Linked DNA regions of Homo sapiens: regions 1, 2, 3, 4 and 6 are each linked to region 5. Evidence: promoter capture Hi-C in 16 types of primary human blood cells and fetal thymus (Javierre and others, 2016). All regions are on one chromosome and are shown on one strand. The core of a region is centred on a gene start or on the middle of the fragment in contact, and the rest is flanking DNA. Distances in the headings are between cores, read along the strand shown. Region 1 overlaps TMEM39B (transmembrane protein 39B). Region 2 has its middle 14 kb from the start of TMEM39B. Region 3 has its middle 8.7 kb from the start of KHDRBS1. Region 4 has its middle 26 kb from the start of KHDRBS1. Region 5 holds the start of PEF1 (penta-EF-hand domain containing 1). Region 6 overlaps KHDRBS1 (KH RNA binding domain containing, signal transduction associated 1).

Region 1 (4,102 bases), core at 158-2,657, 430 kb after region 5:
ATGCCAAGGAAACATGCCCAGCCCTTCAGCCTTAGGGTATTTCCTTGGGGCTCCCTTTGGACTTGGTTGAAGAACATTAGTTACATCCCATCTTGGAGTTTACTGGGCATCAAAGAGAAGGATTTACCTTGCCAGGTTCTGCCCAGCCTGCTGTGCCACCTCTCCCTGGGTGGGATCACAGGTCATGCTGGGTGGGATTTGGGCACAGCCCCTTCGGCCTCCATCCAAGGCCCCATCCCGTCCTATCTTGCCCCGACCCAGGCCTCTCAGAGGGGGAAGGTCTCCCTCTTTCGCTCCATCCTGCTGTTCCTCACTCGCTTCACCGTTCTCACGGCAACAGGCTGGAGTCTGTGCCGATCCCTCATCCACCTCTTCAGGACCTACTCCTTCCTGAACCTCCTGTTCCTCTGCTATCCGTGAGTACCCCTCACTTCACCCCTCACTGCCCAGCACCTGGCCCCTGACCTCTGCCCTGACCGTAGCTGGCTCACCAGGCCTCCATATCTGGAAGATCGGAGGCAGGCAGCAACATCCTCTCACATTGTCAGATGACACTCACTCACTGAGGTCAGGATAATTAGCCTTTTTTTGCAGACGAAACTGAGGTGGCATAATTTACCCAGCTCTCACTATGGGGGAGGTCAGAATGGGACTCAGATCTGCATATATATCCCAAAGGAACATTCCCAAGAGGGAATGTATGGGCTTTGTCTCCCTCGCTCTTCCTTTCCCCTCCCTCTGGTTCTTTCCCTTTCTCTGTGTCTCTCTTTGTGTATCTCAGTGTTTGTGTAATCTCTTGGTATCTCCCTGAGTCTGTGTGCCAGCAAACAGCTGCATGGTTGCATGTCTCTGTGTGGGTGTCTATGCATGAAGCGTGTGGGTGTCTATGCATGAAGCATGTGTGTGTGCCTGCATATGCATGTGTGTATGCCTTTGTGCCTGTTTTTGCTCTCTTTCTCCGTCTCACCAGACCCTAGATTGTTGAGGATGGAGAGACTGTTTCGGGGATGTGCCCAGGACTGCCCATTTCTCGCCTTGCATCAGGGAGAACTTTGGTGAGGTGTTGGATCTGGCTGCTTCTGGGGCAGGCTGCTGGCTGCCTGAGCATTAACAGTCGTTTCCCAACCCCCAGGTTTTCTGGTTCACAAAATTCCTCAAGCTGGGTCAATCCTGGTCTCTGGGAAGCTTCAGAGCTGGCACCTCCCCCTTTCTACCCTGCATGTCCAAAAAGGCACTGGCATGGGAGCCCTGTCACACTTCCTTCAGTTATATCTACTTTTTAATTATAAGAGTGACATGTGGCCAGGCACAGTAGCACAAACCTGTAATCCCAGCACTTTGGAGGCCAAGACAGGCAGATTGCTTGAGTCCAGGGGTTTGAGACCAGCCTAGGCAACATGGCGAAATCCTGTCTACTAAAAACATAAAAAACTAGCCAGGTGTGGTGAGGCACGCCTATAGTCCCAGCTACTCAGGAAGCTGAGGTGGGAGAATCACCTGAGCTCAGGAGGTCGAGGCTGCAGTGAGCCGAAATTGTGCCACTGTACTCTAGCTTAAGCAACTGGAGTGAGGTCCTGTCTTTAAAAAAAAAAAACATTATAATGTCTTATAAAAACATTAAACTTTACAGAAGCTTTTAACATGGAAAAAGAAAGTCCCACATAGTCTTATTCCCCCAGAAATCCATTACTGGCAGCAATTTTCCCAAAATATTTTCTGTGCAAGTACACACACATGCAGTTTTTTTGTTTGTTTGTTCTTGAGACAGTCTGATGTCACCCGGGCTGGAGTGCAGTGGCACGATCTCGGCTCACTGCAACCTCTGCCTCCTGGATTCAAGCAATTTTCCTGCCTCAGCCTCCCAAGTAACTGGGATTACAGGTGCCCACCACCACGCCTGGCTACTTTTTGTATTTTTAGTAGAGTTGGGGTTTCATCATGTTGGCCAGGCTGGTCTCGAACTCCTGGCCTCAAGTGATCTGCCCACCTTGTCCTCCCAAAGTGCTGGGATTACAGATGTGAGCCACTGTGCCTGGCCACATGCAGTTTTTTAAAAAAGAAAAATGGTATTATGCTATGCATGATGTACAATTTACCACACTTTTCACTTAATCATATAACAGATATTTTTCTATGCCAATACATACGGGTCTGTCTCATTATTTTATTTTATTTTAGAGATGAGGGTCTTGCTGTATTGCCCAGGCTGGAGTGCAGTGGCTATTCACAGGTCTGTTCCCACTACTGATCAACACAGGAGTTTTAACCTGTTCTATTTCTTTCTTTTTTTTTTTTTTTTTGAGATGGAGTCTCGCTCTGTCGCCCAGGCTGGAGTGCAGTGGCACAATCTTGGCTCACTGCAAGCTCCACCTCCCGGGTTCACACCATTCTCCTGCCTCAGCCTCCTGAGTAGCTGGGACTACAGGCGCCTGCCACCACACCTAGCTAATTTTTTGTATTTTTAGTAGAGACAGGGTTTCACCGTGTTAGCCAGGATGGTCTCAATCTCCTGACCTCATGATCTGCCCGCCTCGGCCTCCCAAAGTGCTGGGATTACAGGCATGAGCCACCGCGCCTGGCCAACCTGTTCTATTTCTAACCTGGACCAGTTCATCCCCTCCTTAGGCAATTATGTGGTCCCCCACTCCCAGGAGTTCACCATATGGATGCTGAACTTCTATGCAGGCACCTCATCGGCATAGCACATTATAGCATAGAATTCCTCGGCTCAAGCAATCCTCCCACCTCAGCCTTCTGAGTAGCTGGGACTATGGGCATGCGCCATCATGACCTGCTGCCTCATTTTTTTAATGGCCTCGCAGTATTCTATGTTATAGAATTTTCACAATTTATTTGTCTTCTATTGGCAATTTTTTTTTTTTTCTGAGATGGAGTCTTGCTCTGTTGCCCAGGCTGGAGTGCAGTGGTGCAATCTTGGCTCACTGCAGCCTCCAACTCCCGGGTTCAAGCAGTTCTCCTGCCTCAGCCTCCCAAGTAGCTGAGACTACAGGCATGCTCCACCAAGCCCAGCTAATTTTGTATTTCTAGTAGAGATGGGGTTTCTCCATGTTGGTCAGGCTGGTCTCAGGTGATCCGCCTGCCTTGGCCTCCCAAAGTGCTGGGATTACAGACATGAGCCACCATGCTCGGCAATTTTTTGTATTCTTAGTAGAGATGGGGTTTCACCGTGTTAGCCAGGATGGTCTCGATCTCCTGACCTCGTGATCCGCCCACCTTGGTCTCCCAAAGTGCTGTGATTACAGGCGTGAGCCACCGTGCCTGGCCTACTGGCAAACTTTTAAGTTGTTTCTAGCTTTTCCTTATTCATAACAATGAATAATTGCATATGTGTCCAGTATCTCTGCACAGTAGATTCCCAGAAGAATTAACTACACCAAAAGATGGATTCATTTAGATTTTTCATAGTTATTAACAAATTGTCCTTCGAAAGGGTTGCACTGGTTAGAACTTAAGAGTTGCCTGTCGGACGCGGTGGCTCATGCCTGTAATCCCAGCACTTTGGGAGGCTGAGGCGGGTGGATCACGAGGTCAGGAGATTGAGACCATCCTGGCTAACACAGTGAAACCCCGTCTCTACTAAAAAAATACAAAAAACTAGCCGGGCATGGTGGATGGCACTTGCAGTCCCAGCTACTCGGGAGGCTGAGGCAGGAGAATGGTGTGAACCTGGGAGGCGGAGCTTGCAGTGAGCCAAGATCGCACCACTGCACCACTGCACTCCAGCCTGGGCAACAGAGTGAGACTCTGTCTCAAAAAAAAAAAAAAAAAAAAGAGTTGCCTTAATTTGACAGTTTATGGTTACTACCTGGTGAATCTTTTCTTCATGGATGCAGATAACACCCAATGTCATATTATGCTTTATTTTTCATTATTTAATTTAAAAATGTTTATTGACCAAATATAAACATATTGTAAAAAATTAAATCCAATAGTGCTGAAAAGCTTATAATGAAAACCATTGCTGGGCACGGTAGCTCATGCCTGTGATCTCAGTGACTTGGGAGGCTGAGGTGAGAAGATTGCTTTAGCTGGTGGATTTGAGGCCGAAGTGAGCCATGATCACACCAGTGCACTTCAGCGT
Region 2 (4,066 bases), core at 25-2,524, 410 kb after region 5:
TGTGGTTTTCCTTGAGGAAATGATGTTTAAGCCAACATATAAAGGAGGACTTAGCTAGGCAGAGGGCTTGGGGAAAGGACATAGAGCAGCACATTATAGGCAGAGGATAGGACTGAAGCAAGTTGAAGCCGAGGTACGAATCTGGACCTTTTTTATTTTTATTTTTGAGACAGGGTCTTGTTCTGTCATCCAAGCTGGAGCACTTATCAATATGATGGCTCATTACACCCTCAAGTGATCCAGGCTCAAGTGATCCTCCACCTCAGCCTCCCAAGTAACTGGGACTATAGGCAGGTGGCTAATTTTTTCTATTTTTTGTAGAGACAAGATCTCAATCTGTTGCCCAGGCTGGTTTCCAACTCCTAGGCAAAATTGGTCCTCCTATGTTAACCTCCCAAAGTGTTGGGATTTATGGGTGTTAGCCACCACACCTAGCTGGACCTTCTTCTTTTCTTTTTTTTTTTTTTTTTTAAAGAGATGAGGTCAGCCGGGCGTGGTGGCTTAACGCCTGTAACCCCAGCACTTTGGGAGGCTGAGGCGGGCGGATCACGAGGTCAGGAGTTCGAGACCATCCTGGCTAACACAGTGAAACCCGTCTCTACTAAAAATACAAAAAATTAGCTGGGCATGGTGGCGGGTGCCTGTAGTCCCAGCTACTCGGGAGGCTGAGGCAGGAGAATGGCGTGAACCCGGGAGGCAGAGCTTGCAGTGAGCTGAGATCGCGCCACTGCACTCCAGCCTGGGCGACAGAGCGAGACTCCATCTCAAAAAAAAAAAAGAGAGAGAGAGATGGGGTCTCAGGGGCCGGGTGCGGTGGCTCACACCTGTAATCCCAGCACTTTGGGAGGCCGAGGCGGGCAGATCACCTGAGGTCAGGAGTTCAAGACCAGCCTGGCCAACATGGTGAAACCCCACCTGTACCAAAAAAACAAAAAATTAGCTGAGTGTGGTGGCGGGCGCCTGTAATCCCAGCTACTTAGGAGGCTGAGGCAGGAAGATTGCTTGAACCCAGGAGGCGGAGGTAGGAGTGAGCCGAGATCGCACCACCGTACTCCAGACTGGGCAATAAGAGTGAAACTGTCTCAAAAAAAAAAAAACAGATGGGGTCTCACTGCATTGATCATAGCTCACTGCAGCTTCTACCTCCTGGGCTCAAGACATCCTCTCACCTCAGCCTCCAGAGTAGCTGGGACTGTAGGCATGGGCCACTGCACCCAGCTTATTTTTTTATTTTTTGTAGAGACAAGGTATTACTATGTTGCCCAGGATGGAGAACTTCTGGCCTCAAGCAATCTGGCCTCAAGCAATCCTCCCATCTCGGCATCCCAAAGTGCTACGATTACAGGTGTGAGCCACTGCACCTGGCTGACCTTAAAAAAGCAAAGTTTATCATAGAGTTTTGGTTTCCAATTCACAGGGTGGTTGAAAGGAATAGAATATGAGGAGAGTCCCTTAACACATGGCAGTCCTAACATCCCACTGAAGACAACTTGAATGGGAGGAGGGGGGGTGTGGAAAATGAAATTATTCAATGTCTGATTTTTAAACTTGCTGATGAGTGGAGAATGGTTATGGGGCCCTGTTAAGAAACTTGCTAGTCTAGGCAAGAAATAAGAAAGGTCTAGCCGAGCATGGTAGCACATGCCTGTAATCCCAGCTGCTCGGGAGGTGGAGGCAGGAGGATCGCTTGAGCCAAGGAAGCAGAGGTTGTAGTGAATTGAGATCGTGCCACTGCACTGCAGCCTGAGTAACAGAGTGAGACTGTCTCAACAACAACAAAAAAGGTCTATAGTAGAGTAATATTGCAAACATAGAGAAGTCAATGAATTCAAGAACTTTTGTCAGGCACAGTGGCTCATGCCTGTAATAATCCTAGCGCTTTGGGAGACCGAGGTGGGCGGATCACCTGAGGTCAGGAGTTTGAGACCAGCCTGGCCATCATGGTGAAACCCCATCTCTACTAAAAATACAAAAATTAGCTGGGCATGGTGGTGCGTGCCTGTAATCCCGGCTACTTGGGAGCCTGAGGGAGGAGAATCACTGGAACCCAGAAGGCAGAGGCTGCAGTACTGGAGCTAAGATTATGCCCCTGCACTCCAGCCTGAGTGACAGAGCGAGACTCTGTCTCAGGAGAAAAAAAAAAAAAAAAAAACAAAACCTTTTAGGCGATAGAATGAACATATTAAGGCTCCAGGTTACTGACTGGAACAACTAAGGGAGATGGTAGCGCCATTTAAAAGATCGGAAGCACTGGCCAGGCATGGTGGCTCACACCTATAATCCCAGCACTCTGGCAAGCCATTAAGAGGATCCCAGGAGTTTGAGACCAGTCTGAGCAACATATGGAGACAAAAATTTAAAAATTAGCCAGGGATGTTGGTGTGTGTCTGTGATCGTATATGGAGGCTGAGGTTGGAGGATCACTTTAGCCCAGGAGATCAAGGCTGAAGTGAGCCATGATGTTGCCACTGTACTCCAGTCTGAGTGACAAAGCAAGACTCTTTCTTTAAAAAAAAAAAAAAGAAGAAGAAGAAGAAGGAGCATTGCTATAGGTTTTAGCATGAGATCAAGCCCCTTCCCTGTGCCGCAGATTTAAGATGCGTCTCCTCTAGTCCACCCTGAGTATTTGGTGCTGGGATGAATCCTTCATAACATCCATCGCCCCTTGAGCCTAACATTGAGTTACCAATAATAGTGATAATAAGATGCCTATTTTCTGATTTCCATTCTTCAAAAGACTTTAAAGATTTTTGTTCATCTTTTTCACATTTCTAGGACAGCAGAAAGCATTTTTCCCTTTGTTTATAGAGGCTTCAAAGCTTGGATAGGCCCCCCAAAGGTTTTGTTGATTCTTCCCTGGATCCACTCAGCTGAGATATGGCCAAGGACAGGAGATATTGAGCGTGAGACTGCATTTTCATTACCAGACAGACAGTAAAAAGAGAATTCATAGGCTGTGGACTTCTGTTTTCTACCCATCTGTGTACCCAAGAAACTTGTGTACTGAATGAAACAAGTAGAGTTGTGCTGTGGGATGGGGCAATTGTGAGGGAAGCATCCTGGTCAGGTGGGAGGCTGGGAAGCCCCCTAATAGGGAGCTTTCTTAATTTTCTACCTTGTGTCTTTGCAGCTATCAGAGGACTCCTGAAACCTGGAGAGCTACCTGCTGTATAAAGGCTGGCCTGAGGGCATTTGCTGAACACAGAGAAACCCAGGAGAGGAGATCAGCAGTTTTCTTTCACTCTACTTGATCTGTCAGATTTACCCACAGAAAGCCAGTCAGGATCCCTTAAGAGTCTTTAGGCCCAGAATGGAGTCCTCAGGGCTGCAGGGGACTGTGGTGCTAACAATTAAACTGTTCAAGACTTTAAAGAGTTGAAGGGGACTAATGGGTATCCCTAGCATGGCCTCCTAGATGGGAATTAACTGGCAACTCCTACTGTGCCATTCCCAGTATGTGTGCTTCCCTTTAGCCTCCCATAGAATTGGCTGAAACACCCTACCACCGTTTTCTGTTTCCCCACTACCACACCTGTGTTATGGGTGTCAGCCTGTGAGTCCTTGAACCCTTCCAGAGGGCTCCCAAGGGAGGGTGATCACTGCCCTTCCATAAAAGGCTGAGGAAAGCCAAGTGAGAAGATTCAATTAATTTGGGCAAGTTATTTAACATCTGAACCTGTTTTTCTCTTCATTGTTTATTACTTACCTTGTCCAAAAAGGTCATAAAGGGTAGGGCTTTTTCTGTTCCACCTCTGTACTATATTTCTCCCCAACAAATATCTGCCCCTGAGGACCTCAATAAAGGTTTGGTCAAGTGATGAATGGTCCCACTCTGGTAGCTTCTATCAGCTTTGGGAGAGAGCCAAAGCCCCCTTGTTTAGCTCTCACTTTCCTTCCAGCTATACTAGGCCAGCTATTTGTTCTGCCATTTTCCCTTGAAGGATTGGAAAGTCAGCCTTTGATAGGCTTCTGGTTTCCTCTGGCCTATTTCTAGGTTGATTTATACTCAGCTTCCTGAGAGGCTAGGGACCTCTGATACTGTACTCTTCCCTAATGCCTTCTGGTT
Region 3 (3,903 bases), core at 1,113-3,612, 360 kb after region 5:
AATTACAGGTGTAAGCCACCGCACCCAGCCTATTATTTAGTTCTTTAAATGCCTTCCTTTCCCTCAAGACTGCCAGTTTCTTCTACAGTGAGGTCCACAGCTTTACTCATCTTTTATCTCTCTGAGGCATGAAGAGGACAGAGGTGAGCCTGAGCCCAGAAGGTGGCATTTATTTTGCTAAAATTCCAAAGGTTGCTCTCAGATCAGCCAGCATCACAGTGGATTCCTTTGCTTTTATATTCTCTTTGAGCCCAAACTAAGCTTCTAATGTGAAAGGGTGGCCCTAAGTTCTGAATATTATCCCCCTCCCCAGCCCCAGGCCTGAGCCTGACTGAGCCCAAATATAGTGTCCCTTGGGTCTACATATCTCCAAATTGAGGGTGAACTCCCTTCTCTCCCTGGGCTTCTCTGACTGCCATTGCAGTCTCCTCTCCCATTCCACGACCAGAATGATCTAGGACAGGATCACTACCTCAATCAAACGCTTAAAGAGGCAGGCTGGTAGCATAAACGCCTGGGGAGTTAGAGGTAGTGCCATCTAAAGGCAGAAGCTAGTTATTGCTTGGAGGAGTATGAGCCCAGAACTCCTGTACGTCCCTAGAACATCTGATGTTTCAAGAAAAACCAGAAATCCAGAACTTTTTAAAAAATATGAAATCTCCTAATGTTTAAGTATTGGCAACTAATTCAATTTTTTAAAGTTAGGTAGGCCTAATTTTATTTTATTTTATTTTATTTTATTTTATTTTATTTTATTTTATTTTATTTTTTGAGATGGAGTCTCACTGTGTTGCCCAGGCTGGAGTGCAGTGGCACAATCTTGGCTCACTGCAACCTCCACCTCCCAGGTTCAAGCAATTCTCTGCCTCAGCCTCCCAAGTAGCTGGGATTACAGGTGCCTGCCACCACGTCCGGCTAATTTTTGTATTTTTAGTAGAGACGGGGTTTCACCATCTTGGCCAGGTCGGTCCTGACCTTGTGATCTACCCGCCTCGGCCTACCAAAGTGCTGGGATTACAGGCGTGAGCCACTGCGCCCGGCCTAGATAGGCCCAATTTTAAAACATATGGATAGGCTAAATCTAACCTGTGAGCTGTGGTGTTCTTCCCTCCTTTCCGCGTCTGACCACGTTATCTCACTGTTCTCCACTGGCACTCTATCTCCTTATCTGAGCATCAAGACTCAGACTACCTTTTTTTTTTTTTGAGACGGAGTCTCGCTCTGTCACCCAGGCTGGAGTGCAGTGGCGCGATCTTGGCTCACTGCAAGCTCCGCCTCCCGGGTTCACGCCATTCTCCTGCCTCAGCCTCCTGAGTAGCTGGGACTACAGGCGCCCGCCACCGCGCCCGGCTAATTTTTTTTGTATTTTTAGTAGAGACGGGGTTTCACCATGTTAGCCAGGATGGTCTCAATCTCCTGACCTCGTGATCCACCCGCCTCCGCCTCCCAAAGTGCTGGGATTACAGGCGTGAGCCAGCCCGCCCGGCTCAGACTACCTTTTGGCCTTATCTCCTGCCATCTTCCATGAGCCCCTCCCCACTCATCCAAATCTAGCTCATATCCCGCAACTTGCCATTCCAGGGACCCACACCAAGTTTTGTAAAGTTTTGTTGTCTTTGCATGTGCTGTTCCTATTGATATTCATTGAGTCAACAAATATTTACTGATCAGCCAATCCAGACCAGCACTGTGCTGGGGACATAACCTTAAACACCAGAAACAAAGTTCCTGCTCTCATAGAGCTTACATTTGAGTTGCAGAGATGGAGGTTACTCAAATAATCACAAAGAGGTAAATTTTTGTGTGGTTTTTTTTTTTTTTTTTTTGAGATGGGGTATCACTCTGTCACCCAAGATGGAGTACAGTGGCATGAGCTCGGCTCACCGCAACCTCCACCTCCTGGGCTCAAGCAATCCTCCCACCTTAGCCTCCCAAGTAGCTGGGACCACAGGCTCACATCACTACACCCAGTGAATTTTTTTTTTTTTTTTTTTTTGGTAGAGACAGGGTTTCGCCATGTTGCCCAGGCTGGTCTCGAACTCCTGAGCTCAAGTAATCCACCCACCTTGGCCTCCCAAAATGCTGGGATTACAGGAATGAGCCACCACATCCAGCCCCAAAGAGGTAAATTTAAAAGGTGCTGTTTTAGGAAGGAGCCATGAAAGCATGTAACAAAGGGAGCTAAGCCAATCTGCACTAGGGGGCCTGGACACCTTCCCTGAAGAAGTGGCAATTGACTATATCGGAAGAATATATAGGAATTACAGTAGCTAAAGAAAAGAGGAGTAGCTAAAGAAAGAAAAGACAAGGGACTGGATTGGAGGAAGGGGGACAGTGATTGGAGTTTTAAGCTAAGGAACCAGAATGGGTGTGGTCGAGAGGAAGCAGGAGTCTGGCTTATTTGAGGAACTGAAAAAGGCCAGGGTTGCTAAGCACAGGAACCAGGGAGGAGAATGGCATGAGATGAGGTAAGAAAGCCATGTGTAGCTGGGCACAGTAGCACCTGTAGTCCCAGCTACTTGGGAGGCTGAGGAAGGAGGATCATTTGAGGCCAGGAGTTGGAGGCTGCAGTGAGCTATGATGGCGCCACTGCATTCCAGCCTGGGCAATACAGTGAGACCCGATCTCTATAAAAAAAGAAAAGAAAGGCATACAGGTAGGGGCAGGTCAAACATGTTAACAGGACTCAGGTCTTTATCCTAAAGGCAATAGGAAAAATACTATTCTGGCTTCTGGGTTGAAAATAGAAAAGGGGAAAAGGAGTGGAAGTAGGGGACCAGGTCAGAGGTGGCAGAAGTTCAAGAGAGGCATTATGGCACTTCAGCTGGAGGCAGAGGCAGGGGAGACAGAGAAATGTGGATGGGATTTTCAGTATTTATGAGGTAAGCAACAAAGGACTTAAGAATGGTTTGTATGTGGTGGGGGTAGAGTGATGAGGCAGAGGAGGGAAGTCAGAACAAGTCTCAGATATCCAGGGTGTGCAGTGAGTTAGGGGTGCTGTTCCCTAAGATACAGACACTGAGGAGGAGCAGGTCAGTGGCAAAGGGCAGAGTGGGAGTTTGTTTGTTTATTTATTTATTTATTTTGAGACAGTCTTTCTCTGTAACCCAGGCTGGAGTGCAGTGGTGCGATCTCGGCTCACTGCAACCTCCACCTCCCAGGTTCAAGCAATTCTCCTGCCTCAGCATCCCGTGTAGCTGGGATTAAAGGCAGGTGCCACCACACCTGGCTAATTTTTGTAGTTTTAGTAGAGACGGGGTTTTGCCATGTTGGCCAGACTCGTCTCGAACTCCTGACCTCAGCTGATCCACCCACCTCAGCCTCCCAAAGTGCTGGGATTGGGAGCCACTGCGCCCAGCCTATCTATTTATTTATTTTTGAAATGGAGTTTCACTCTTGTTGCCCAGGCTGGAGTGCAATGACGCGATCTTGGCTCACTGTAACCTCCACCTCCCAGGTTCAAGCGATTCTCCTGCCTCAGCCTCCCAAATAGCTGGGATTACAGGTGCCCGCCACCATGCCTGGGTAATTTTTATTTTTTATTTATTATTATTATTATTATTATTTTAGATGAAGTCTCGCTCTGTCGCCCAGGCTGGAGTGCAGTGATGCAATCTCGGTTCACTGCAACCTCCACCTCTTGGGTTCAAGCGATTCTCCTGCCTCAGCCTCCCGAGTAGCTGGGATTACTGGCGCCCACAACCACACCTGGCTAATTTTTGTATTTTTAGTAGATATGGGGTTTCACCATGTTGGCCAGGCTGGTCTAAAAACTCCTGACCTCAGGTGATCTGCCTGCCTTGGCCTCCCAAAGTGCTGGGATTGCAGATGTGACCCACTGCACCTGGCAAGCAGCTCACTTTCTGGTTAGCAGGACAGGCAGGAAAAAAAAAAAAAAGATGA
Region 4 (4,038 bases), core at 209-2,708, 340 kb after region 5:
GACTCTTAAAAACGGGGTAGGCTTGGTGCAGTGGCTCACGCCTGAAATTCCAGCACTTTGGGAGGCAAGGCAGGAGGATTGCTTGAGGCCAAGACCAGCCTGGGCAACAGGGTGAGACCCCTGTCTCTCTGAAAAATTTAAAAATTAGCCAGGCATGGTGGAGCATGTCTGTAGTCCCAACTACTCTAGAGGATGAGGCAGGAGGATCACTTATAGCCCAGGAGGTCAAAGCTGCGGTGAGCCCTGTTCATGCTACTGCACTTCAGCCTGGACAGCAAAGCAAGACCCTTTCTCTAATAAAATAAAATAAAATAAAATAAAATAAAATAAAATAAAATAAAATAAAATAAAATAAAATAAAATAAAATAAGGCTGGATGTGGTTGGTCACTCACACCTGTAAGCCCAGTACTTTGGGAAGCCAAGAAGAGAGGATTGCTTGAGCCCAGGAGTTCAAGACCAGCCTGGGCAACACAGTGAAACCTCATCTCTATGACAATACATTTAAAAATTAAGGAAAAAAAAAAAGCCAAGAACCTAATTTCTATCGTAGGTCAGGTTCCCGTGGTATCCTGCTGTCCTCCTTTGTGACATTTGGTACCTTTGGAATTGCCTGCCCGTTGACTTCCCCATCCCTCCACCTCCTGCACCCACTCTGTTCCCCTTGGCTCCAAGACTACAGGGACCAGGAACGCCTAGCAAAGTGCTTGGTTTAGCAGTTGACCAAATGAATGAGTTCTCCCACCTTCCAATGACTTTTCTCTTGCCTGGGTTTTGATTCTTCCAGAGAAAGGAGAGAACAGCTCAGCTCCATCTGTGTGTGCCGCCCAGGCCTGGCTCACACAGTTCCTGCACATTCCCCACCCAGGGCAGGGTGAAGATGCCCTCTTTCTTGTCCTGGAGAGAGATGTAAAAGCAGTAGCTCCTGCTGTCTTCACTGCCTCAGCCCTGGGGGACACCAAAATGCCTGAGACCACAACAACCTGTGAGAGGTGTGAGCAGGTGGCAGAGCCAATTACAGGAACAGGACTGGGCATTCTGGCTGACCTTGGCAGAAGCTTCTCTTCCATCTTCCTTTTATTTCTAGCAGCTGGGGGAGGAGGGAATGAAGCCCTAATTGCTTTCACCTTGAGAAAAATCTGCGGCTGACCATGTGCAGAGAGAATCATTCTGTCACACAGCAGGGGGGCTCGAAATTAGATCAGATCAGGAAGGCTGGCGTTTTCCCTGAGGCTCTCGACTAACGACCAAGGGGAAGAGAGGCACTTGGCCTAACGCCCCTCCTCACTCTGCCCTACCAGTCACACAGTGATAGCTGAGCTCTTCTCTTCTGCCCAGAACTCCACAGGGAACTCCCCATGCCTGCCCCCTCCCCACCCAGGCTGCTGTGACTAACGTGTGCCTTCACTAGGTCTTGCCCAGGCCACAACTCAGGCTGCTGGGTGAGAACTAGAGCTATTCTCACAGGCCCCCAACTGCCAGGCAGATGCCTCTGTCGACCCAGCCAGCCTGTCCCTGCCGAGTTCAGACAGGAAGGCGAGGCTGGCCCCTGGAACTACCAGGGAGAGACATCGGCCAGCCACATATGCCTGATTCTGCCCAGACACTTCTAACAATTGAGGCAGTGGGTGAACTCGCATGCTTTCTCCATCCCCGATGAAAAGCAAGTTCAAAAGCCACATACTGTCCTCAAGCCCTGGGGGAAGCCAGGACCCTGACAAAGAGGAGGCATTGTAACTCGATAGAGCAGTCTTGAGTGATACTGATGCAGTAGAGTCAACCACCACACACTCAGCATTGGAGCCACCGAGAATCATCCAGAGCGCATGTGATACTGACGTTAAGCAATTAATGGCATACAAAGCTTCAGAGCACTAGCTGGTCACCTACTGGATCCCGAGTAGAAATTTTCTGTAAGAAATTCTGGGGAAGGCCGGGCGCGGTGGCTCAAGCCTGTAATCCCAGCACTTTGGGAGGCCGAGGCGGGTGGATCACCAGGTCAGGAGATCGAGACTATCCTGGCTAACATGGTGAAACCCCATCTCTACTAAAAATACAAAAAAATTAGCCGGGCGTGCTGGTGGGTGCCTGTAGTCCCAGCTACTCAGGAGGCTGAGGCAGGAGAATGGCGTGAACCCGGGAGGCGGAGCTTGCAGTGAGCCGAGATCGTGCCACTGCACTCCAGCCTGGGCGACAGAGTGAGACCCCGTCTCAAAAAAAAAAAAAAAAAAAAACTCTGGGGAGGGCCAGGCGCAGTGGCTCACACCTGTAATCCCAGCACTTTGGCAGGCTAAGGCGGGGGAATTGCTTTAGCCCGGGAGTTTGAGACCAGCCTGGGTAGCAAAGCAAGACCCCACCTTTACAAAAAAAAAAATTAGCCAGGTGTGGTGGCACATGCCTGTGGTCCCAGCTACTTGGGGGCCGAGGTGAGAGGATAGCTTGAGCCAAGGAGGTCAAGGCTGCGGTGAGCTGTGATCACAACACCACTGCACTCCAGCCTGGAGCAAGCAAGAATTTCATTCTAAAATTAAAAAATAAAAATTCTGAGGAGGCAATAGAAACTGATAGCTTCATACATAGCCCACTGCAACAACTTTCTGGCTATGTGACTTCGATGGTGTCACTTAACCTGTCTGAGCTTCAATTTCCTCACTGCAAAATGAGATTAATAATACCTACCTCAAAGGGCTGCCATGAGAATGAAGTTAATATATGTAAACTATTTAGTGCAGCATGTTGCTCAGGAAGTGCTCACTAAACGGTCACTGTCCATATTATTATTTTATTTTATTTTATTTTATTTTATTTATTTATTTATTTTGAGACAGAGTCTCGCTCTGTCGCCCATGCTGGTGTACAGTGGCGCAATCTTGGCTCAAAGCAAGCTCCACCTCCTGGGTTCACACCATTCTCCTGCCTCAGCCTCCAGAATAGCTGGGACTACAGGCGCCCGCCACCACGCCTAGCTAATTTTTTTTTTTTTTTTTTTGTATTTTTAGTAGAGACGGGGTTTCACCGTGTTAGCCAGGATGGTCTCGATCTCCTGACCTCGTGATCTGCCCCTCTCAGCCTCCCAAAGTGCTGCTGGGATTACAGGCTTGAGCCACCGCACCAGGCTTTTTTTTTTTTTTTTTTTTTTTTTTGAGACGGAGTCTCGCTCTGTCACCAGGCTGGAGTGCAGTGGCGTGATGTCGGCTCACTGCAACCTCTGCCTCCTTGGTTCAAGCAATTTTCCTGCGTCAGCCTCCTGAGTAGCTGAAATAACAGGCACACGCCACCACACCCAGCTAATTTTTGTATTTTTAGTAGAGACAGGGTTTCACCATGTTGGCCAGGATGGTCTCGATCTCCTGACCTCGTGATCCAACCCCCTCAGCCTCCCAAAGTGCTGGGATTACAGGCGTGAGCCGCCATGCCCCGCCCATATTATTATTATGGAGCCATCAGTGCACACTGCAGTATGGACACTGAGGAGAGATGGTGTATGGTGGGGACTTTACGACCATGCAGACCTGGTGTGAAATCCTGTTTTCATTATTTCTGCCTTATGTGGCCTTGGGAGAGTTAATTAATTTCTTTAGGTTTCAGTCTCCCTCTGTAGAAAGGTATCGATAACACCTACCTTGTCAACAGGATAAAGTCCTGTTATTACCAGGGCCCAAGCATGCAGAAGATGCTCAGGAAATATTAGCTGCTGTGGGTACCGAATCATCATCCTCTTTCCGGCATCCTTCACCTTTTTCATGTGGTAGTTTTTACAGAGAGGTGACAGTCTCCTCAAAGTGATTTACTGTGGAGGAGCATATTGATTTTTTTCAAAGCCAGTGGTCCCTTTCCTGTCCTGATTCTTCTTGTCATCTCTACTATTTGACCTGGTGGCCACCTCTGAGACCTCCTCCCCCTTGGTTTTCTTGACTCCAGTACCCCAATCTTTGCTTCTCTCTCTCTGTCTCTCTCTCTCTCTCCTCCCTTCTTCACAGTATCTTCAGCTTCCCTAGCCTATTCCACAGTCCTGTGGCCCCCGCATTCTACCTGTTCT
Region 5 (4,263 bases), core at 1,757-4,256:
ACGTGGATTTTCTCATTTAATCTTTAGAGTAATTCTGAGGTAGATACTATTATGACCCCATTCTAAAGAAGGGAAAACTAGTCCAGGCGTGGTGGCTCACGCCTGTAATCCCAACACTGTGGGAGGCTGAGGCAGGTGGATCACCTGAGGTTAGGAGTTTGAGACCAGCCTGGCCAACATGGCGAAACCCCGTCTCTACTAAAAATACAAAAAATTAGCCAGGTGTGGTGGCGTGCGCCTGTAATTCCAGCTACTTGGGAGGCTGAGGCAGGAGAACTGCTTGAACCCGGGAGACGGAGGTTGCAGTGAGCCAAGATTGTGCCATTGCACTCCAGCCTGGGCGACAGAGCAAGACTCTGTCTTAAAAATAAACAAATAAATAAAAAATTTTTTTCAAAAAAGGGAAAACTGAGTCTCAGACTTTTGCAACAAACTTCTGCAAGGGAGTGACAAAGCAGGGATTTGAAATCAACTCTCTCTGGCCTCAAAAACTAAGCTCTTAAGCACTGAAATCCACCAAGCTCGTTCCCCCATAGGACCAAAGGGTGCTTGAATTTTACTACTCCAATACCCAGTCCCTGCTTGGGTACCCTGGACTGGAAGCAGTGGAAAATTACAGGAATTCTGACTCCTAACAATAGGCTGGAATCCTCCAAAGCTATGTAGTGGGTGGAGGGGAGGCAGCACTGACTGAGATGCTTTAAAACAACTCGTTTCCTTTCTTAGAACACCTGAGACCAGGAGGCGGACAAGGGTATGGTAGGAAAAAAAAACAACATTTCTTTTTCTATTCCAGACTCTTCTCTCTGTGCTCCTTTTCAGTATTTCACTCCAGGAATAGCCCAGGCAGCATGGCATCATGAGAGCAGTCACGGCAGCAAGAGCTGCCACCAGACACTGGCATGTACTAGGCACTAGCAACACGCCAGGCTCCCTGCATTTTAACCTCATTTTAGCCCTTTTCACAGGTATTATTTCTCCCTTTATACAGGTGAGGAAGCTGAGGCTCAGAGCCCTTAGTTTGTCCAGGGGTATATAACTATTAAGTAATACAGCTAGAATTCTAGCACAGTTCTCTCTAACCTGTCACTGCTTTTAGGATGCACACCAATTGTCCCTAATGCTTATTAGCATGTAGATTCCTGGGTACAGAACAGGTCTGAAGTGGGACCCAAAAGTGTGCTTTCTTAAACAAGCTCTCAGCTGATTCTGAGGCAGAAGACCAGCCACTGGGAAACAAGGCGCTATGAATGTTTTTTCAGCCTGTGTTCCTCAGAAATACTAGAGTCAAAAAAGTGACCAGACATCTGAAAAGAAAGCCGGGAGGCGGAGTTTCTATGGTTAGATATGTTTAAGAAATACTGCATATTATATTCCTTTCTGGATGATTTACAATGTACATTAGCAAATTAAGGATTCTGAAATAGCTTGTGGTCAATAAACTTATTCAGCTATACTTAAGAGTATTTCCAAAACTTTAGTTAACTACAGAATCCTCCTATATTAACAATATCTATTAAAACCTCCCAAGACTCAGCAAATGGAATGGACTTTAGGAAGCAACTGCTATGCTACACTTCCTAACTCCAGCCCGCACTGGCCTCTCTCTTTCCTACCTCTCTCTAAGGATGCAATAAGAGAAGTCCTAAGCTCTGGTCATGGCCTCACCCTCACTTACTACGTGTGACTTTTGGGAAGCCACTTAACCTCTTTGGGTTTGCTCCTCAGCAGTTAATTAGGGGTAATAATACCTGCATGCCGATAGGGACTTCATGATTAGGATAATGGAGGTCCAAACACTGTGTAACCCGCACAAGACTGCACTCCCTGGAAGGACTGTTACATCTTTTGGCCTGTGACTAAACTCAGTTGAGCACTGTGTAATATACCAATTGATCTTGTTTTCCCACATTTCGTTTATGGATTTCATCTCCTAAATAACTGTGTGATCGCAGCCCTCTGTGGGCTTCATTTCCTCCTCTGTAAAATGAGGGCTCTATTTTGAGGACCCTCCGGGCACTGGCCTTTTAGAAGTCTACTAAAAATCAAAATGCTAAAGGGCAACACATGTTACACCTCACTATGTACCAAACGCTTCGTAAGCATCACCTCCTGACTCTCCACAACAGCTTTATGAGGCAGATCCTATTATTCGGCCCTATTTTACAGGCGGAAACTTGGACTCAGAAAGGCAAAACAGCTTGCTCAAGGGCTCACAACTATTTAGGTGGTAGAGCTAAGATATGAACCTACCTCTGACACCAAAGTGCACTTCAACACCCTACTATCACCCAACAAAGAATTCTGGCCACAGAATCACCTTGCTGCGGTATTCCTGACTGAATCAAGATACGCTGGGGAAGAGGCATCTGAAGATAGCCCGGGTTCTGACCTCGGCCCTGCTGCCTAACTGCCTGGTGACTTCAGGTAAGTTCTGTGTCTTCTCGGGGTTCACTTTTCTACACGCGAAATGGCGGTGTTGAACTAAGTCAGTGGTCAAACCAGCTCACTTGTGGCGCCTGCTACAACCAGAGTTTCCTGATGACTCTGATGCAGTGTGGGGTGGGTCCGGAAGCCTGGATTTTTATCCGACGCCCCAAATGAGATCGGCGGAACCAGAACTCTAAACCTCCGGTCATGGCTGATGCCCCCGCCCAAGGCCCCCATGAGGGCCTTGGGAGGCTGTGGAGCCCAGGCCAGCGCCAGCCTGGACCTGTGGGGTCCAAGGTCCCCAAATCCTCGAGTGAGCGACGTCAAGGGGGCGCGACACGACCTCGCGAATGTGCGGTCCTTCATGACGTGAGCAGGGCGCGACCGACGGTCCCTTTTCGGTTCTCTACAGCGCAAGGCCTCGCTGAAGCGAACCCATCGTGGGAAGGGCGCGGAGAAAGCGGGGAGAAAGAGCAGGGGGACGTCGGGCCTGCGCCTGGCACCGCCGCTACCTGGATTCGCGGGCCCCTCACACACTCACCTGCCGGTAAGGATAGCTGGCCATGGTGATTCTGACGTCACACTCAGGCAAGGGGTGGGGCTTTCCGCTCTCAAACCCGCCCCTCGTCTCGGCTTTGGGGCTGGGCCCGCATCTGATTGGACGTCCGCGCCTGTCAATCTTGGGTGCTGTCGGCCGACGGAAGTGACGATGGGGGCGGTGGGCGGATGCCTACCCGAGAGACCAGGGGAGCTAAGTGATTGATGGAGCTTCCGGAAGTCTTGGCGGCTGTACCAGCGCTAATGTTCCTCCTTTTCCTGAGGTGGAGTGGGCCGAAGAGGTGGTCAGGTTGGGAAATTTAGTGAGAAGCCTGGGTGGGGTGTTGCTGCGGTAGCCATGTTATAACCTGGCAAATGGGACGCATGATAGTGACGTAATTGCTGGAGTAGCTCCTGAGTTTCCGCAGATGAGCCGCGGGAAAGGAGACGAGGGGCGGTGGCCAGGCGGTTGCCCTGACAACGGGGAACCGACCGACTCTTCCCGGTAGGGAGAGGCGATGGCGGAATTACTCCTCTAATGTCAAGGTACTGGGTACCAGTTAGTACCCTTGTAGTGGGATACAGATCTGTGGTCTTTGGAGAAAAAAACCCCAGATCATTAGAGTTGGAGGAAAATTGAATTATCTAGTGCCTCTTTCTTCATAAATGGGGAAACTGAGGTGCAGAGAGGCAGTTGCCTTGCCCTAGCTCACAGTGGGTCGCCTAGAACCGGGGTCAATGGATGTCCAGTTCTCAGCAGGGAGGTCTAGGTCGGTCCCCATCGTAGGTCAAATCCTGGTGACCGAGTGATCTCAGCACCATGTACTTGCCACTCAGTGGTTCCGTTTCTACACTTATTTGTGTGCTTATTTGATTTCTTTGTCAAGTTCTTTCATGTGGGCTAGGGTTTTGTCTGTTTTTGCTTGTCATTATAACTCCAGTACCTAGTATAGCGACTGACACGATTATTAAAATAAATGAATAAATGAATGTTACGAACTGTTATCCAGTCTAGTCCATCTATCTAACCAAGTGCACTTTCCAAAATCACAGTGCTGATCATGCCACTTGCCCACTACACAGCCTACAATGGATGCTCTTCATCCACGCCTACAAAATAAGGCCCAATCTCTTCATTCTGGTACTCCAGGCCCTTCAGAATCTGGCCCAGCCTCAACTTTCCAATCTTACGGCCCCTTCTGCTACTCTGTATTTCTGTGCTCAGTTCCACCATTCAGCACTTCTGCTTTGGAGGGAGGATCTTTGTTTTATCACTTTCTAACTGTATCACCTTAG
Region 6 (4,192 bases), core at 798-3,297, 390 kb after region 5:
AAAAAGCCTGTTGATCCAACACCTAGATTTTGAGACAGGTAATTCTGAATTCACATCTAGAGTCTGCCATTTATTAGCTCTGTGTTCTTAAGCTGGTTGATGTATACTCCTTGAGTCTGTTTTCTTAACTGTAAAATGTGGAGATCTGCCTACTTATTTCAGGGTCATTTTGAAGATTTTTTTTTTTTTTTTTTTTTTTTTTGAGATGGAGTCTCTCTCTTTCGCCCAGGCCGGACTGCAGTGGCGCTATCTTGGCTCACTGCAAGCTCCGCCTCCCGGGTTCTCGCCATTCTCCTGCCTCAGCCTTCCGAGTAGCTGGGACTACAGGTGCCTGCCGCGCCCGGCTAATTTTTTTGTATTTTTAGTAGAGATAGCGTTTCACCGTGTTAGCCAGGGTGGTCTCGATCTCCTGACCTCGTGATCTGCCCGCCTCGGCCTCCCAAAGTGCTGGGATTACAGGCGTGAGCCACTGCACCCGGCCCTCATTTTGAAGATTAAACTGAAAAATCTATATAAAGCTTATTATATAGAGCCAAGTGCATACAGCTCCATTAATGGTAGTGGCTTTTATTATTCCAGGAAAAGGAAACTATTTGCAAAGAATGGATATGTAAGAGTATGCCAGGCTCTGAACTACAAGTTGTTCAGTCTGGCTTGTGAGTAGGTTATATATAGAGAGAGAATGGAAGTGATCCGGAGAGCTAGGCAGAGACCACATTATGAATAATGAGGGGTCTACCATCAAGACTTTTCTCAAAGAGGTGACAGATAGGGTGCCATTTGACTTCAGAGAAGGAATGACCTGAGACCTCATCTGGGCTCTCAAGAGCTCTTCTTAGAATTCAAGTCTCCCGTGGACCAGATGATTTCTCAGTAGAAAGTGTAGATACCACACAATACTCCTTGTATCTTTCGTTCCCAGGATATGATGGATGATATCTGTCAGGAGCAATTTCTAGAGCTGTCCTACTTGAATGGAGTACCTGAACCCTCTCGTGGACGTGGGGTGCCAGTGAGAGGCCGGGGAGCTGCACCTCCTCCACCACCTGTTCCCAGGTAAAAATAATGGAGACACCCAGAAATAGGATGTGAATTTGACTACTAGTGTCATCTCTTTTAGTGGTGCTCTTATGTCTAGCTTAGGAAGGGTCTCAGGATTTGTATGTTGCATAAAGAACAGAATTCTACAACCATACTCTCACACCTGTAATCCCAGCACTTTAGGAGGCTAAGGCAGGCGGATCAACTGACATTTGGAGTTTGAGACCAGCCTGGCCAACATGGTGAAACCCTGTCTCTACTAAAAATACAAAAATTATCCAGGTGTGGTGGCATACACCACACTACTCAGGAGGCTGGGGCAAGAGAATTGCTTGAACCCAGGAGACGGAAGTTGCAGTGAGCCGAGATCATGCCACTGCACTTCAGCCTGGGAGATAGAGCAAGACTCCATTTCAAAAAAAAAAAAAAATAGAGTTCTAGATCTTGGGCACTTTGACCATAGCCAAGTGCTGCAGTCTAGCTGAAACTTTTGGTCTTCTAATTTTGGACAGTCTTAGCATTTGTTAATGGTCTGACTTTAAAATTCTACCTTTTGTGACTGACCTTTATAGAGTATTCAGACTCTCCAGACCTACCCAAGGCAGTGCAGTGATGAATTGGTCCTCTATAGGACCTGGGGGATCTTGCAGTGTGGGTCCTTTACCCTGTACATTCCTCTGTGCTTTAATAATAGCCTAGTTAAGGCTTCATAAAATCTGCCTAATTCCAGAATTTGTAAACAAATCAGAACATAAAAGTGGCCTGTTTATAAAAAGCTCCATTTAAGATAAACTTTCATTTTGTAGGGGCCGTGGTGTTGGACCACCTCGGGGGGCTTTGGTACGTGGTACACCAGTAAGGGGAGCCATCACCAGAGGTGCCACTGTGACTCGAGGCGTGCCACCCCCACCTACTGTGAGGGGTGCTCCAGCACCAAGAGCACGGACAGCGGGCATCCAGAGGATACCTTTGCCTCCACCTCCTGCACCAGAAACATATGAAGAATATGTAAGAAATTTGAACAATGTGCCATTTCCCAGTACCTAGAAGGCTGCTAAAGGAAGTTGAATGACAGGGCCTCGGTCCTTTATGTAGGTGTCATGGACTGCCTGTAAGATTTGCAATCTGCCCTCTTCTCTTGCAGTGAATGTTGAACTATTAGAAGATTTTTCCATTTTAGGCAGGGTTTTACTATACGCCTGTAGATTAAACAAGAAATAAAATGTACTTTAATGTAGTATTTTATAATGAATTTCTTACTACTAGTACTGATAATACTAAAGCTCGATTTTGTACTTTACTTCCTGCCCACACTTCTTCTGTGGCATATCATATTTGTTTGGGTTTTCTTTGTTTAGTAACCCTTTCTCTTTTGACTATTCTACAGTAGGCATTAACATTTTGGAGGGAAATGTCATGTCCTTTTAATTCAGAAGCCTACTTACTCCCATGGGATGTAATTACCTTTCCTACTCTCTATGATTTTGATCTTTTATTTCATTTTTTTGTTGTTGTTGTTCTAGGGATATGATGATACATACGCAGAACAAAGTTACGAAGGCTACGAAGGCTATTACAGCCAGAGTCAAGGGTGAGTCAGGCAGTATAAGCACTGTTTTTTGTCCTGAGGATGGATGGAGGGAGTTGGAGGAACAGAGAGATTTAGACAGTACAACCCTAAGGAGCAGAATGGTTCGCCTTTTGAGGGTATCTCCTCTGCAACCCCCACAGTCCTGACTGGTCTTGAACTCTTGAGCTCAAGCAGTCCTCCCACTTTAGCTCTCTCTAGTAGCTGGGGTTACAGGTGCGTGCCACCATGCAATGCTTTCCTCTGCGTTTGACATCTGTGAAGCACACACTTGGATTTGTAAATCTGGATAACTGTGAACCTTAAATTATAATTTAGAACCTGAGAGTAACAAATGAAAAATTTCCAAGCTGTGACTACATGGAAACAAGGAGAAATGCCTTTATGTTATTTTGATTTATTATTTTAAAATATCAAAACCACATTAAAGCTCCATAAAATTTTACAAGAAACTTGAATTCCATTACCATAACTTAGGTTCTTTTCTGCATTTCTCTTTAAGACCATTTCCTTGTGTGTCCATATATATAGCTTACCTGTGAATTGATTGAAAAAGAGTTCCAGAATTCTACAGCAGTGATAAAACAGTTCTTTTTTCCTTCTGGTGAGCCCTATGAATACATGTATATATATGCTATATTAAAAGGGTCAATTTAGGATTGTGCTTTTTCACTTTATATTCTGTGGTATCCATTTTTCTTTGCAATAGTTGTCAATTATTTTATAAGTACATAGTCTATACATATTTTGGAAATACTTTACGGTTTAGGGATGGGGCAGAATGAGTATTTTCCTGTATTAATACACTTAGTAAAATGACTGACTTATGGAAGTATTTGAGAGAAAGTTGAAACATAGTTACTCTGTAGCTTCCTAACACTCTGCCTTTGGCTTTCAGGGACTCAGAATATTATGACTATGGACATGGGGAGGTTCAAGATTCTTATGAAGCTTATGGTATGTCTTTATCTCTGTGGTGGGGCAGAATGTACAAGTAAGTGCCTGGGAGAATGCTGGTGACTAAAGTATTGAGAGTCAGACAAACACACCTACGGATAAACCTTTAGAAGGCCAAGATTTTGCTAGATGTGACAGTAAGAGTTCTGCTCTTGCTTAAATTTTGCGGTACATGGTAGAAAGAGGGACTGCTAAAGTGAGGTGGGGTATCGTTACTCTTGGAAGGGTAGTGTTTGTCTTAAACAAGGGCTCAAGACCAGCTTGGCCCTGGTTGGAGCAGCAGACTTATAAGCTAATGTTATTTTTTTTCTACTTTAGGCAGGGAAATAGCTAGACCTGGGTTGTATTTCTGGGCCTTTGCTGCCGATATCTAGGCCACTTTGGTAGATAACAAGAACTTAATCGTACACAACTGTACTCATCTACCCCATTTCATTAAAAAAAAAATTTAGATCTCATTGAAAAGAATGTCATTGTAAAGGAAATGTCAGCTGAAAGGGACCTAGATGGCAAGCAGCTAGCCAGACCAGGTTGCGGGGCAAGAATAGTGCCTATTAGGGCCGGGCGTGGTGGCTCATGCCTGTAATCCCAACACTTTGCGAGGCC

The links. Contacts are between HindIII fragments. The CHiCAGO score rates a contact against its expected background, and 5 or more counts as called.
Region 1: a fragment that was not itself captured here is called in contact with the fragment with the promoter of PEF1 in region 5 in 1 of 17 cell types (fetal thymus); the score reaches 5.5 in fetal thymus.
Region 2: a contact is called between a fragment that was not itself captured here and the fragment with the promoter of PEF1 in region 5, in 9 of 17 cell types (fetal thymus, naive CD8 T cells, monocytes and 6 more). The highest score is 8.2, in fetal thymus.
Region 3: a fragment that was not itself captured here is called in contact with the fragment with the promoter of PEF1 in region 5 in 3 of 17 cell types (total CD8 T cells, M1 macrophages and fetal thymus); the score reaches 6.0 in total CD8 T cells.
Region 4: a fragment that was not itself captured here is called in contact with the fragment with the promoter of PEF1 in region 5 in 2 of 17 cell types (naive CD4 T cells and M1 macrophages); the score reaches 6.6 in naive CD4 T cells.
Region 6: a contact is called between a fragment that was not itself captured here and the fragment with the promoter of PEF1 in region 5, in 2 of 17 cell types (fetal thymus and neutrophils). The highest score is 6.0, in fetal thymus.

What each region holds. Positions count from the first base shown.
Region 1 is chr1:32,076,903-32,081,004 of GRCh38, forward strand. It overlaps TMEM39B (transmembrane protein 39B), which reads left to right. Exons shown (of 9, transcript NM_018056.4): 5 at 262-416. Among named protein-coding and RNA genes, the nearest start is that of TMEM39B, 6.0 kb to the left of the region's middle. The HindIII fragment of the contact is 448 bases long and covers 1,184-1,631 here.
Region 2 is chr1:32,057,033-32,061,098 of GRCh38, forward strand. It overlaps a transcript of KHDRBS1 not described here. Among named protein-coding and RNA genes, the nearest start is that of TMEM39B, 14 kb to the right of the region's middle. RefSeq lists an enhancer at 3,809-4,066. The HindIII fragment of the contact is 3,085 bases long and covers 1-2,817 here.
Region 3 is chr1:32,003,228-32,007,130 of GRCh38, forward strand. No RefSeq gene overlaps it. Among named protein-coding and RNA genes, the nearest start is that of KHDRBS1, 8.7 kb to the right of the region's middle. The HindIII fragment of the contact is 4,207 bases long and covers 260-3,903 here.
Region 4 is chr1:31,986,086-31,990,123 of GRCh38, forward strand. No RefSeq gene overlaps it. Among named protein-coding and RNA genes, the nearest start is that of KHDRBS1, 26 kb to the right of the region's middle. The HindIII fragment of the contact is 806 bases long and covers 1,056-1,861 here.
Region 5 is chr1:31,641,870-31,646,132 of GRCh38, forward strand. PEF1 (penta-EF-hand domain containing 1) reads right to left here and starts at 3,007. Exons shown (of 5, transcript NM_012392.4): 1 at 2,972-3,007. The coding sequence starts at 2,995. It overlaps PEF1-AS1 (PEF1 and COL16A1 antisense RNA 1), which reads left to right and starts at 2,267. Exons shown (of 6, transcript NR_184313.1): 1 at 2,267-2,427; 2 at 2,843-2,977. RefSeq lists enhancers at 2,737-3,507, 2,827-2,896, 3,137-3,476. The HindIII fragment of the contact is 8,144 bases long and covers 1-4,263 here.
Region 6 is chr1:32,035,988-32,040,179 of GRCh38, forward strand. It overlaps KHDRBS1 (KH RNA binding domain containing, signal transduction associated 1), which reads left to right. Exons shown (of 9, transcript NM_006559.3): 5 at 923-1,056; 6 at 1,848-2,049; 7 at 2,565-2,632; 8 at 3,528-3,586. Among named protein-coding and RNA genes, the nearest start is that of KHDRBS1, 24 kb to the left of the region's middle. The HindIII fragment of the contact is 3,062 bases long and covers 517-3,578 here.